2 separate regions of the Homo sapiens genome follow, and region 2 is linked to region 1. Evidence: promoter capture Hi-C in human tissues and cell types (Jung and others, 2019). All regions are on one chromosome and are shown on one strand. The core of a region is centred on a gene start or on the middle of the fragment in contact, and the rest is flanking DNA. Distances in the headings are between cores, read along the strand shown.

Region 1 (7,477 bases), core at 1,894-4,393:
CTCCCATATAAGTTTTAAAATCAGCTTGTCAATTCCAACAACAATGATGCACTTGATAGTTTGGGAATTTATTATAGCTATCAATCAGTTTTGGGAAAATTGACGTCTTTACAATATTGAGTTTTCTGATTCATGAACATGGTTTACCTCTCTTTCCATTTGGGTCTTCTTTAAGGTTTACCAATAGGATTTTATATTTTTGTCCATTGTGGTCTTGCTTATCTTAAGTTTGATTTGTAAATATTTTATGTTTCTTTTAGTCTATTGTAAATTGTGTATTTTTAATTTCATTTTTTTTTTTGTTAATAGCATATAAAACACACCTTGTCTTTTAACTGGAGCATTTTGTCCATTGTGTATTTAATGTAATTAAATCTACCATCTTATTTTATGCTACATATTGTCTCACTTGTGTTTGTGTTTTCTTCCTCCCTTTTCTCTCCTTTTCCCCTTCTTTGAGATTGAGCAACTTAAAACAAATCATTTCATTTCCCCCCTTCTCCTAGTTAGAAAGTTAAACACTCTCTATTCTTACTGAAGTCTAGAGTTAACTAATAAATACTTTTATCCTCCTCCTGGACAACATAAGGACCTCAGGTGACTTTCATTGGTCTCCCTCATTACTTGATATTATTGTTGTATATATCTAATTCTAACTCAATGTATTTTAAAACTCTCACCTAAGACCGTATTTGTTTTTTTGTTTTTTTTTTTTTGGAGGCAGAGTCTCTGTCACCCAGGCTGGAGTGCAGTGGCGCCATCTTGGCTCATTGCAACCTCCATCTCCTGGGTTCAAGCAATTCTTGTGCCTCAGCCTCCTGAGTAGCTGGAATTACAGGTGCCTGCCACCAGACCCAGCTAATTTCTTGTATTTTTAGTAGAGACAGTGTTCTGCCATGTTGTCCATGTTGATCTCTTAACTCCTGAGCTCAGGCAATCCTCCCGCCTTGGCCTCCCAAATTGCTAGGATTACAGGCAAGAGCCACCACGCCTGGACCTTTTTACTTTTTTGTAGTTGGAAAAGGAAGGAATATTTTAATAGCTTTAAAATTGTTTTATTATGATAAAATTTTCATATTATAAAGTTTATCATTTTAATTATTTTAAAGTGTACAGTTCTGTGGCTTTGCGAATATTCATATTATTGTTCAGTCATCACCACCATCCATCTCCAGAACTTTTTCATCACCCCAAGCTTAAACTCTGTACCCATTAAACACTAAATCCCCATTCCTCCAGCCCTTTGCAACCACCATTCTACCTCCTGTCTCTCTGAATTTGACTACTCTAGACACCTCATACAAGTGGAATCATACATTTATCTTTTTGTGATTGGGTTATTTCACATAGCATGTCTTCAGTGTTCATCCATGTTGTAGCATGCGTCAGAATTTCCTTTCTTTTGGCCAGGCATCGTGGTTTATGGGTTTATGCCTGTAATCCCAGCACTTTGGGAGGCTGAGTTTGGATTTGGGAAGATTGCTTGAGCCTAGGAGTTTGAGACCAGCCCTGGCAACATAGTGAGATCCCGTCTCTACAAAAAATAACAAAAATTAGCCAGGCATGTTGGCACGTGCTGGTAGTCCCAGCTACTTGGGAGGCTGAGGCAGGAGGATCCCTTGAGCCTAGGAGGTCAAGGCTGCAGTGAGCCATGGTTGCAACACTGCACTGCAGCCTGGGCGACAGAGACCCTGACTCCAAAAAAAAAAAAAAAAAAAAAAAAAAGGCACAAAACCCCAATAAATAGAATTTCCTTCTCTGCATAATGCTGCTATGAACATGGTACAAATAGCTGTTTTCATTTCTTTGGGGTATATATCCAGAAGTGGAATTGCTGGATTATGTGGTAATTATGTTTAATTTTTTGAGGAACCACTCTACGGTTTTCCACAGCAGCCACACCATTTTACATTCCCGTCAGCGATGCACAAAGGGTTCCAATTTCTCCGCATCTTTGCCAACACTTATTTTCTTTTTTTCCTCTTCTTCCTCCTTCTCCCCCCTTGAAACTTTTTGTTTTCTTCTCGTTTTTGTAGAGAACAGGGTCTCCTTATGTTGTCCAGTCAAGTCTGCCAACTCCTGGGCTCAGGCTATCCTCCTGTTTCTGCCTCCCTAAGTGCTGGGATTTTAGGCTGAAGCCACTGCGCCCAACTCCCTGCTTCTTCAACTGCCATCCTAATGAATGTTAAGTGGTATCCCACAGTGGTTTTGATTTGCGTTTCCCTAGTGATTAACTATGGGAAGCAGAAGTGAATGAGACAGAATTGTGATCTTGTCAGAAAAATCGTCTTGGAAAAGCCAACGTCCAACAGAAATGGTTAGAACAGGGGTCGCTGGCTTCCATCCAGACAGTATCCCTGACCCTTGTTGGGGCAATGTCACAGAGGCTCCTGCTGAGCAGGGAGGTCTGGATTCCACACTCTTCTGCCACTGCCCAGCTCTGGACCTAAGCTTTCTATGGGTGTCAAGAGGACAAGCAGCCGTGCCCATTTGTCTCGCTGCTTGTTTTTTTGGGTGTCAGATGCGCCAGCAGGAGGGACAGTGTGCGGGAAGGTGCTGGTCTGAGGCTGGTCCTGCCAAAGCCCCGCAGGCTCACTCCCTGGTCGTGCGGAGGTGGCTGGTGCTCGCTGGTCTCCTCAGCACCCGCAGGCCGGGCCCGGGGGCCAGGCAGTTGTCCTCTGTGGAGCCTTATCGGGGCCCACAGGCCCTGCTGCCTTGACCCCACCCGGGCCCCAAAACTCGGCCTGGGGACTGCACAAGGCGGGGCTACGCGGGGCAGGGCCCGTCTGCTGGGGGAGTGCGCTGGGCGGCGGCGGGAGGGCAGGGTCCCTGGGCTCCGACAGCCCCTCCGGCGGAGGTCAATCACAATGAAACCGTGTCCAGCGGACCCGGCAGGGGCTCGCCGCAGTCTACCTGGCCACCGTGAAGCCATGACCTGGCGCCCGAAGCTGCCGGCCGGGGTGTACTCCGCGCGGGACCCTGGGCCTCCGCAGGCCCCGGCGGGGTCGCCCCGAGGCGGGCCTGGCGAGTCCAATCGCCCTGCCCGCAGGGGACCCGCCCCTCATGGGTCCCGCCAATCGCAGGGTACGTTGCTCGGCAGTGCTGCGCGGCTTGGCCTATGGGACGGCGCGTTGTTGGGCTGCAGCGCCGCAGGCCGCACCCAGGTCGGGCGGTGGGGGCGAGCGGAGGGGCTGAGGGGCGGAGAGGCCTGGCGGGCCGCTGCTGCGGGCCAGGGGACGGGGGCGGAGCCGGAGCCGGAGCCGACGGGCGGTGGCCGCACTGGGACCCCGGAATCCCGCGCGCTGCCCACGATTCGCTTCTGAGGTGAGGCTAGCTAGCGGGGGCGGCGGGGGCCCGGTTCGGGCTGAGGCGGCGGCGGGGGCGCGGGGAACTGGGCCGCGGTTGCGGCGGGCGGGGGCCGCGGGGCCTGCGGCGGCCCGGGCAGCCTCGGGGGCGGGGAGGCCGCTGCGGCGCCGAGGGCGTCTTGGAGGGGTCCCCGCGGGGCCTTCGGCCTGGGCCGAGCCGGGGAGCGAGGGCGCCGCAGATCTTTCATCGGGATAGGACCCCGGGGACTAGGCTTTTCCCGGGCCGCTCGTTCCTGGCCGGCTTGTGGGCTGCAGGGGTGGGGGCGGAGGAGGACGACCCTGGCTGGACGCTGGTCAGCATCCTGCTTGTGAGACCGGTTCCGCGGTCCGCAGCGCTGGTGGCTGCAAGGTTTGTGTACGGACGCATCTGTCGGCTCTCGTATTTAAAAACGACGGCTTCTGCCAAAAGAGAAAAGCCATATCTGCCGACGGACGCTCGAGAGATAATCGTGGAACTTTATCAGCGATGGGGCTGTTGGTCACCTTTGCCCTCCCTCTCTTTTCTTTTTTCTTAATCTTTTATTTTCGTTTTTTGGGAGATGTCAGAGGGCCTTTCCCTGTTAGGATGACTTTTATCTTTGCTCTTGTAATGGCTCAAGATAGTTGGGAGGTAATTTGCATTCACTTTATGCATACCCACCTTGAAAAACGTATTTTGGTTCGCCTGAAACTGTTGTTGGTTTGAGCATAATTTATGTTTAGAAAGACAAAAAGCAATTGTCATATCTCCAAAGACCAAAGACATAGCTGATAGCTGTATGCATTACTGGTAAGTTAAAGAAAGATTTTTTGTGTGAAAAATTGACTGAGATCTTAATGGGGATAGGAAATAGAATGCTGATAGGTCGACTGTGTCTATGAGTAGAGGCGCCTAGTGAAAACAAGCTTGGAGTGGATGAGTAGGAGTTCAACAGGCACCAGAGAGAGGAGGGCATTTCAGGCAGAGGGTGTGAATTGTATGAAAGTGAGTTTGTAAACTTTGGAGCCTTGAATGGACAAAGGCCCGCGATGATACCTTTTTTTTTTGAGACGGAGTCTCGCTCTGTCGCCAGGCTGGAGTACAGTGGCGCGATCTCCAGTCACTGCAATCTCCGCCTCCCAGGTTCAAGCAATTCTCCTACCTCAGCCTCCCGAGTAGCTGGGACTACAGGCGCGCGCCACCACGCCCAGCTAATTTTTGTATTTTTAGTAGAGACGGGGTTTCACCATGTTGGCCAGGATGGTCTCAGTCTCTTGACCTCGTGATCCGTCCGCCTAGGCCTCCAAAAGTGCTGGGATTACAGGCGTGAGCCACCGCGCCTGGCCTACGTTAAAATTTTAATATACTCCTTTGATTTTGACAGTGGAGAAAACTAGAATAGTAAAGTTGTCTTTTCAGGAAGTGGATGATTTGGGCAGTCAAAACTGCTTTTCAGAGTTTCGATGTGGTTTACAATGGTATGGACAGCTGGTATGATTTGTTAGTTTTCTACTTGTGGTGTCTTTAGGTTTTAAAGTTTCGGAGAGTCGCTGAGTGATGTGAGTCTAAACTCTAGCCAGTCCCCGAATTGTGAGATAGTTTTCCTTCTAAAATATACTTCGTACAAGCTGGTCATTTTTCCCCTTAATTCTTTTGATGTTATCTGATATACTGAGAAGGTTTTGTTTGGTGTTCAGTTTTGTGTTACTGATTTTGCCATAAAAACTGTTTATTTACATGATTTTTAGTTTTTAGTTCTTATAGTCTTTGAATTGAATAAGAAAAGTAAATACTGAAATGCTTTGAAAGATAACAAAATATTTACTTATTGCTTGAAACTTAGAGTTAGATTGACTGCCCTTCCTTTCTTTCCTTCCATGTTTACCTCTTAACATATACACATATGTAGAGAGAATAGTATAAACCCCTTTTCTCAACCAGTTTCAACAGTCAATCTTGCTTCATCATATCCCCGCAGTCCTAGATATCCTTTAACCGTTAAATAGTTCAATATGTATATCTTAAAGACTTAAACAAAAGGTAAACATGAGTACCACTATCACAGAAAATGAATAATTCCTTAATACTTTCAAATATCCAGCCAGTGTTAAAATTGTCAGAATTCTCATTTTTTTTCTTAACAATTTCAATCGATCCACATGCTATCTATACAGTGTGACTCATTTTAATTGATAGTTTCCCCTCCATATTTAGTTTTCTCTTGTAATTTATTTATGGATGAAACCTGGTAGTTTGTCATGTGGAGTTATGCACAGTCTCAATTTTACTCTGTGGCATAGTTTCACAGAATTTACTGAAAACTGGTGGTTAGATCTAAAGGTATGATCAGATTCAGCTTTACTTTTGTCAAGCAAACTTCTTAGGTAAGTAGGCAGAAATGATTAGTAGTCTTTGTTCGCAGCCCTTGATTGTCAGTGCCTACAGTCATTTCAGCAAGCATTGAATATATTGATATTTGAATTCTATAACTTCTTTTATTAAATAGAATATTTTTATAAAGATAATTTTTCATGCCTCCACTATTTGGTTATCTTGAGGTATCTCTTACAGAAAAGGGAGGATAAATGCTTAATTCTTCTCCATTATTTACTAGGTTTCACATAATGAATTGTTTCGCTAATATCCTTCAAAAGTAGCCAATGAAGCTGGGCATGCTAGGATGGGCCTGTAATCGTAGCTGCTCCTGAGGCTAAGATGGTACGAACCTGTGAGCCTGGGAGGTCGAGGCTACAGTGAGCCATGATCACTTCACTGCACTACTCTGTCTCTTTAAAAAAAAAAAAAAAAAAAAGCCGAGCGTGGTGGCTCACACCTGTAATCCCAGCACTTTGGGAGGCCGAGGCGGGCGGATCATGAGGTCAGGAGATCGAGACCATCCTGGCTAACATGGTGAAATCCCGTCTCTACTAAAAACGCAAAAAATTAGCTGGGCGTGGTGGCGGATGCCTGTAGTCCCAGCTACTCGGGAGGCTGAGGCAGGAGAATGGCGTGAACCCGGGAGGCGGAGCTTGCAGTGAGTGGAGATCGCTCCGTTGCACTGTAGCCTGGGCGACACGGAGCGAGACTCCGTCTCAAAAAAACAAAAACAAAAACAAAAAACAAGCTAGGTGCGGTCGCTCACAATCCCGGCACTTTGGGAGGCTGAGGCAGGTGGATCGCCTGAGGTCAGGAGTTTGAGACCAGCCTGGACAACAGTGAAACCTCATCTCTACTAAAAATACAAAAATTAGCTGGGCATGGTGGTGCATGCCTGTAATCCCCACTACTAGGGAGGCTGAGGCAGGAGAATCGCTTGAACCCAGGAGGCGGAGGTCGCAGTGCCATTGCACTCCATTCTGGGCAACAAAAGCGAAACTCCGTCTCAAAAAAAAAAAGGAAGTAAGACTAGGATTCTACTCAACCTTCTCATTTTTATATACCTGTATCTACTTTTCTTCTAAGCCAAACATTTTGGTTCTACTTGCTCACTGTTTCAACCCACACCGTACACATTTCAGTCTCAGAACAAGATGAACACGTGAACCTCGAAAATTTGAGACAGGTCTCGGTTAACTTAGAAAGTTTATTTTGCTAGTGTTGAGAATGTGTGCCTGTGACACAGCCTCCAGAAGTCCTGATTGACATGTGCCCAAGGTGGTTGGGCACAGCTTGGTTTTATACATTTTAAGGAGACATGAGACATCAATCAATATATGCTAGAAGTACATTGGTTCAGTCCAGAACGGCGGGGACAGCTTGAAGCAGGGAGGGAGCTTCCAGGTCACAAGTAGGTGAGAGACAAATGGTTGCCTTCTTTTGAGTTTCTGATAAGCCTTTCCTAAGGAGGCAACCAGATATGCATCTATCTCAGTGAGCAAAGGGATGACTTTGAATAGAGTGGGAGGCAAGGCTGGGCATGGTGGCTCACGTCTGTAATCCCAGCACTTTGGGAGGCCGAGGCAGGTGGATCACCTGAGATCAGGAGTTCGAGGCCAGCCTGGCCAGCATGATGAAACCCTGTCTCTACTAAAAATACAAAAATTAGTCAGGCTTGGTGGTGGATGCCTGTAATCCCAGGTACTCAAGAGGCTGAGGCGGGAGAATCACTTGAACCCAGGAGGCGGAGGTTACAGTGAGTTGAGATCGTGCCATT
Region 2 (7,477 bases), core at 2,883-5,382, 140 kb after region 1:
CTATTTCCTCCATGAGGGCCAGACGTGGCTCCTCAGGATTCCGCAGCCTACATAAAGAACCAAATGATCTTCCCTCCTCATACCTAATATACCGTGGGGGAGCAGAGGCAGGGTGACTATTGTAGAAATTCCCTTTTAGAAAAGGAGGAGCAGGGAGCCCTCAGTAGACACTGGCCCGTCAGCAAAAGGGCCCTGTGCGGGTGGGGAACATTCCTTGATTAGCGCCCAGTTCTGCCCTCACCTGTGTTCACTGTGTCCCATGGCTCCACCCCCAGGACATTTTCCTCCTTGAGCCGGCTAACATGGACAGACAGATGAAACCTCCACAGGTTTCTGGAGCAGTGCAGAGCTTTGCAGACCCACTTCTACGGATTTAAGTTTGTGGGCTTGAAGGTTGTTTCAAGGCTCAAGCAGTTCAAGGCTGTCTTCATCCTGGATCCAAGTTCTTCAGCACTATATTTCTCTCAGAAACATAGTCAGCTTTTGATCTTGTTAAGCTAAATTTATAGGTGGCCATTGGTTTGTACTGAGCTCCTGCACTAGGCCCCAAAAATCAAACCAAAATTGAGTCAGTCCTGCTAAAGTTCCATGTCACCATGCTGAAAGTTGTTTGACCTTTGGAGAAATCAGGAGAGATACATAGTAGCCAAATCCCCAAACAGGCCGGTTTTAGCCAGCATGATAAGGAGGTCCCCTCTGCTTCAACCTTTGCAAGGGGCAAGGAGCAAGGGAAGTAACTCTGAAAGGACTAGTCTGCTTTTTGTTCTCTGTGTCTGCTTGCTTCAGCCCTTTTCTGCCTATAAAACCAAACTCCTCTGTTTAGCTCATTGAAACACTCATTGTTTTCTTTCTCTTTCTCTCTTTCTTTCTCTCTCTTTCCCTCCCTCCTCCTTCCCTTCTTCCTTGTTTTTTTTTCCCTCTCTTTCACAGGCTCTTGTCTGTTGCTCAGGCTGGAATGCAGTGGCGCAGTCATGGCTCACTGCAGCCTTGACCTCCTAGGCTCCAGTGATCCTCCCACCTCAGCCTCCTGAGTAGCTGGGACTACAGGTGCACACCACCATGCCTGAGTAATTTTTTTTTTAGAGATGGGGTCTCAGTATGTTGCCCAGGCTGCATTCTGTTTTTTAGAAGGAGGTGTTGCCCAATTCTAGCATTGCAAATAAAAGCCAACTAGATTCCAATTTGAAATTTGATGTAATTTTGTCCTTTGATGATATGTTTGCTTCCAGCCAGTTCCATGTGCCAGTAGTTGCACCCACCGTTCTTTCCTAGACACATTCTCAAGCTTGAATTTTCTTTCTTTCTTTTTTTTTTTTTTTTTTTTTGGTTTGATACAGAGTTTTGCTCTTGTTGCCCAGGCTGGAGTGCAACGGCATGATCCCAGCTCACCACAACCTCCGCTTCCAGGTTCAGGTGATTCTCCCGCCTCAGCCTCCCAAGTAGCTGGGATTGCAGGCACATGCCACCACGTCCGGCTAATTTTGTATTTTTAGTAGATACAGGGTTCCTCCATGTTGGTCAGGCTGGTCTCAAACTGCCGACCTCAGGTGATCTGTCCACCCCGGTCTCCCAAAGTGCTGGGATGACAGGCGCGAGCCACCGCACCCGGCCGAATTTTCTTTCTTTCAAGTCTCTACTCCCCAGATTAGTTGGGGGCTGTCTTGAGGCAGCAGTATGGGTGGGAAAACCACACCCCTGATCTGCTTGCTGCACAGAGCTGAGTTTTTATCTGCTTTTGTCTTTCAAAGCCTTTTCCAGTCTTATTTTCCACTGTTTGGGGGTCCAGGAACAGGCGGCCTTTCATACTCTCTAAAGGCCCAAATTTCTGGTCTGTTTGCACTTTTTTTTTATTGCTGCTTACAAAGCCAGCAATTCTTGCTTGAGCTCCCTTCCCCAGCAAAATACCTTCCTCGGTATGATGAGTAACAGCGCATACTACTGCTGTTTGACCTGTTTGCTAGAGCGTGGGGCTCTCCAAGCACTTGGTCTGTGTGTGCTGCCTCTTGAGTTATCATCACAGACAACACTGAACTAAATGTGTTGCTGCTACTGAATAACGCAGAGCTCCGGCTGCTACGCCTACTGCTAGACCATCTGTTTACCCAGGGTTTTTTATTAGGTTAATATTTCCCTCTAGATACTGACATCTGTATCAGTTAAACTGATACTTGCTGCTGTAACAGGTAAACCTTAAAATCTCTGTTGTTTGTGGAGCAATAAGAATAGAATTTATTTTTCATTTCCATAAAAGCCACGTTGAGGGCGGTCAGGGAGGGAGTGGGTGAGTAGACTGTGCTTTGTGCAGTCATTGAGGATTCCAGGCTGGCAGAAGTTCTGAGTCATCAGCACATGGCTCCCAAGATCCTCCTGTGGATCTCGGTCCATCTACGAAACAAAGAAGCGAGAGAGCACGGAGAACCGTGTGGGAGATTCTTCCAGGCCAGGCGTGGAAGTGGCATAAACACTTCTGTCCACATTCTGTTGTCCAGATCACAGTCAGATGGCCCCCCTCCCCACAGGGGACTGGGAAATGTCCCTCATTGGGCTGCCACTTCCCAGCAGCAGCTCTGTTGTGACTATTAGGAGTTCACTATATATTCTGATTACTCATCCCTTATCAGGTATATAATGTGCAAATGTTTTCCCCCATTCCATGGGCTTATGAAGTTCATTTTGCCTATTTTTTCTTTTGTAACATGAGCCTTTGGTGCCCTGACTATATCTCTTTTGACAATAAAATATTTTCCTTCTTTTTTACAGCTAAAATTGAGAATAAACTAGGTTTTATAGAAATTCCTAAAAGTCAGTTGCTGTATTAATCTATCCTAAAGATCCATATTGAGTGGGAAGAAAAAGGGAAAACAACTTTCATCTTTAAAATTACTTTATGTAGAAGGTTCTTGGTTATCTCATAGACTGTGGCTTCACACATTAAGCTAATTGATAATATGCTAAGTTTTTAAGAATCTTTTAAAAACTTGGTCTGATAGGATTCTGTAATTGAGCTAATCGATTCTATTGTCAATCTAAAAAAAGATATCAGAGAAAAATATCTCTGAATTTAATGAATGAATTAGGGAGTAAGCAAAGAGGATTATAATTTGGGATGCACAGCCATGGCGAGCCACAGGTGCACCCGAAAAGGGGAAAGGAAGAGGAAGCTTTTATTTGGCAGACAGGGAGAGGTTCACATAAGCTGCTTGGAAACAGAGTTCACTGGTTCCAGAGGCTCAAAATCGTAGTTGGCATCAGTTCTGTGGTGGAGATGCCACTAGGGGGCAGGTGTTCTTTCAAGAGCATCTTATCTCAATTGCTGCCGTCCTAAAAAAAGTCCAGGCCAGGCAAGGTGGCTCATGCTTGTAATCCCAGTTGTTTGAGAGGCTGAGGCAGGAGGGTCGATTGGGCCCAGGGGTCTGAGACTAGCTTGGGCAACATGGCAAGATCTCTTCTCTACAAAAGCTTTTTAAAAAAATAGCCATGTGTGGCCAGGCACAGTGGCTCATGCCTGTAATCCCAGCACTTTGGGAGGCCGAGGTGGGCGGATCTCCTGAGTTCAGGAGTTCGAGACCAGCCTGGCCCACATGCTGAAACCCCGTCTCTTACTGAAAATACACAAATTAGGCTGGGCACGGTGACTCACGCCTGTGATCCCAGCACTTTGGGAGGCCAAGGCAGGCGGATCATGAGGTCAGGAGATCGAGACCATCCTGGTTAACGTGGTGAAACACCGTCTGTAAATACAAAAAAATTAGCCAGGCATGGTGATGGGCGCCTATAGTCCCACCTACTTGGGAGGCTGAGGCAGGAGAATGGTGTGAACCCAGGAGGTGGAGCTTGCAGTGAGCCGAGATCGCGCCATTGCACTCCAGCCTGGGCAACAGAACGAGACTCCGTCTCAAAAAAAAAAACAAAAAAAAACCCCACAAATTACCTGGGTGTGGTGGCAGGCGCCTGCAATCCCAGCTATTCTGGAGGCTAAAGTGGGAGAATCACCTGAACCCAGGAGGTGGAGGTTGCAATCATCTGAGATGGTGCCACTGCACTCCAACCTGAGTGACAGAGGGAGACTCTGTCTCAAAAAAAAAAAAAAAAAAAAAAAGAGTGGCCAGGCACGGTGGCTCACGCCTGTAATCCCAGCACTTTGGGGAGGCCGAGGCGGGCGGATCACCTGAGGTCAGGAGTTCGAGACCAGCCTGACCAACATGGAGAAACCCTGTCTCTACTAAAGATACAAAATTAGCCGGGCGTGGTGGCACATGCCTGTAATCCCAGCTACTCAGGAGGCTGAGCCAGGAGAATTGCTTGAACCCAGTAGGCGGAGGTTGTGGTGAGCCAAGATCACACCATTGCACTCCAGCCTGGGCAACAAGAGTGAAACTCCGTCCCCCTACCCCCCCAAAAAAAATCCATGTGTGGTGGTGCATGCTTGTGGTCCCAGCTGCTGAGGAGGCTGAGGTAGCTGGATCTCTTGAGTCCAGGAAGTCAAGGCTGCAGTGAGACTTGCATTCTGCATTCTAGCCTGGGTGACAGAGCAAGACCCTATCTCAAAAAAGAAAAAAAATGGTCCAGTGTACCTGGTCTCAGAAATACCTGCATATGTGCCAAATGTAGGTTGTGAAAAGCATGAAATGCATGAAGGATGTGAAAGAATTTCTTGTGGGGTTATTTTAGACACTCCTCCTAATGGTTCTTATCTCAGACATGTAAGCAAGAACCCTTCTTTGTGCCTTCCCAGCTCCAAGTTTCTTTGGGTCTGACAAGAGTGCTTTCATCCTGTTAGGACCAGCTGCCTGACCCTCCACAGGGTACCCAGAGCCTGGACAGTGCCTGGCACACTGGACATGGACAGCAGATGTCTTCTCAATAAATAATTTGTTAGCCAGGATTCACAGTATGGAAGGATGACTGGGGCTGCCATGGCCACCCAGCCTCCCTGGAGCCTTCACTGCCTGGAGCTGGCTGGGAGTGGCAGCAGCCAGGATGAAGAGGAAAGCCTAGCACCTTGACTTGTTTCCCTCATCATCCAAGATGGGAACCCGGGAACCAGTCTTCAGTGGGAATCTTCTGTCGATGTAGGAAACATACCCTAAAGGGGAAGGGAAGGAACACTGAACCCCACTCATGGGCCTGGTACCTTTCTATACAAGTTATCCTATTTAATCTCCACAACAAGCCTACTAGATGCTGAGATCTCAATGTGCAAATACCCCAGAACAGCACCTAGATGAGGCACAGGGACTCACTGGAAGCCTTGTCTTCCTTGGGCCCATCTGTGAGGAGCAGAACAGCTCACCTCTTGCCTGACAGGCTAGTCCTGGGTAATGCATCCAGCCTACCTCTTGTTGCCACCCTACCCCACCGTCAGTGCCACATACCCGTGAACACAAACCCACTGGGGCTGAGCGGCTGTGCCACTGTCACAGGATCCTTAGGGTGTCACTTCACCAGCTGGAGACTTCTGTGGCCAGTGGCGGCTTTACCTGAGTTTTGCTTGGGCCCACTGGGCTCCTTCCACCCACTTGGCCTGGCAGGCTGTGCTTGTCTTTCACTACTGGTCCAGATCCCATGCCTGCCAAGGGCAAGCCAGGTGCAGAGCAGCAAGGGTTGCATGAGCAAATGAGTGTGGGGTCTGGCCATTGGGCACAGCCAGGCATGCCAGCTGTGGCAGGGCAGGCAGCTCCAGGCACAGGCGCTGGTTACCTGCTGTGGCTGTGGCTAGACCAAGCGTACTGCAAGCAGCTGCCACTGTGGGTGCCAGGGAATGCGGTGGCGCCCAGAAGCTTGGAGACTTCAGGAACCACAGAGCTTCAAAGAGGGTGTCACAGCCTTGGCTGGGGGAGGTCCTAAGTCTCGGCTCCCCAAGGGGCCACAGCTCTTATCTCCTCTCTTCTCTCCTTCTCATCACCCACAACGTGGTGAGTTGGGGGGTGTGCTTCAGCCTGTTTGTATTACAGCTCTTTCAGTCCCACCATTCAGTGGGTCCCAAGTTCTTGTCCCATGTCCAGGAAGAATGAGGTACACAGACAACTGGAGGGTAAGCAAGAAGAGGTGCTTTATTGAGTGACAGTACAGCTCTCAGGAGACCCAAAATGGGTAGCTCCTTTCTGCAGGCAGATCATCCCATCGTCTGTGCAGCCCTCAGAGGAGAGGAGACCTGGAGTGGGTAGCTCCTATCTGCAGGCAGGTTGTCCTGATGAGTATACAGCCCTCAGTGGAAAGGAGACCCACAGTGGGTAGCACCTCTCTGCAGGCAGGTTGTCCTGTTTTCTGCCCAAGTCTGGCTGAGTCTGGGGTTTTTATAAGCTTCAGAGGGGAGGAAGTACATGCTGATTGGTCCGTGGGCGGGCCCAGAAAAACCACCATAAGTTCTCACTCCAGTCTGCAGAACTGGCAGCCCGGCTGTCAGGCTTCAGTCTATCCCTGGCTTGAAGGTGAGGTTTCACTGGGGACCCTGCCCCTTTCTACCCAGGAGCCTGTCTGCCTCCTGCCCTTGTTCATGGTGCCCTGGCTGTTTGTGTGCCCTGGCCTGCACTGAGCTGAACTCAGCCACGCCTTGGCCTCCCTGCCATGCTCATTGGTGTCCAAAGTCTGGAGGGGGCTGAGGTGGCAGGTGGCTGGTGTGTCAGCACCGCCCCTATCGTGCACACACCTGGCTGGGTTGTGACAGTGCCTGGGCTCAGCCACAACTTTGATCCAAAATCGGAGCAGGTGCCAGGAGCAGTGAGAGGCCAGTCAGTGGGAACAGGCACTTCTGAGCCTGCAGGGGCAGGGGGGCTTCCTGGGCTCCTGAGAGCACAGGGATGCCCAGGTCAGCAGCTGTGGCTGGGTGGCTGCAGCTGCTCCCAGTAGTGTGGGGCTCCTGCCCCACCAACCTGGAAGGGGGTAGGGCTCCCACCTGTTCCTGGCTTCCGCCGGCACTGGCCACTGCTGCCAGCACCACCTCATCCAGGCCCTGCCTGCCTCGCTGCTTGGATCCTGGGAAGGTGGAAGCACTGGTTCTAAGCCTACAGGCAGTGTCAGGCTTAGGAAAGGAAGGACATAGCAGCCAGGCTGCCATGTTTCTTGCTAGTTACTTGAGTAGTGTAAAGTTGGGAGAAGCCAGGGAACAAGAGAAAGCAGAGATAGTGAAATATGAATAAGACCAAGAGGGACTTGTTCTCTGCTCAATGATTCAGCAGCTTGGGCACAGAAGCACCACTGAAGATGTAAGCCATGTCTCAGGGCACTTGTAGATCATGCTTGTTTTCCACTTGTGGAATCTAGAGGGCAAAATACTGCATCAGGCAAGTGACAGCTCAGCTCTGTACTCCTTTAAGAGGTCAGATAAAAATGGCATATCCCAAAGAACAGTTCTTATTTCAACTGAAGGGAGAACCAGCAATAACCCTGAAAAAAATAACCCATAACCAAAGATGATAGCCTTTTTTCAGTGCCTACTGCTTCTCTGGAATGAGTTTCTGTGTTCTCTGTGAAGGGA

The links. The method cuts DNA at HindIII sites, captures the fragments that hold promoters and counts their contacts. A contact is called where the count stands out against the background at its distance.
Region 2: a fragment that was not itself captured here is called in contact with the fragment with the promoter of ADD1 in region 1 in 2 of the 25 tissues and cell types used here (hippocampus and pancreas).

What each region holds. Positions count from the first base shown.
Region 1 is chr4:2,840,701-2,848,177 of GRCh38, forward strand. ADD1 (adducin 1) reads left to right here and starts at 3,144. Exons shown (of 16, transcript NM_001354761.2): 1 at 3,144-3,324. SH3BP2 (SH3 domain binding protein 2) reads left to right here. Exons shown (of 13, transcript NM_001122681.2): 13 at 1-396. RefSeq lists an enhancer at 1,916-2,427 and silencers at 2,556-2,605, 2,706-3,085, 3,146-3,335, 3,456-3,605. The HindIII fragment of the contact is 4,953 bases long and covers 1,824-6,776 here.
Region 2 is chr4:2,975,328-2,982,804 of GRCh38, forward strand. The region is part of intron 1 of GRK4 (G protein-coupled receptor kinase 4); the gene reads left to right. Among named protein-coding and RNA genes, the nearest start is that of GRK4, 15 kb to the left of the region's middle. The HindIII fragment of the contact is 3,818 bases long and covers 2,224-6,041 here.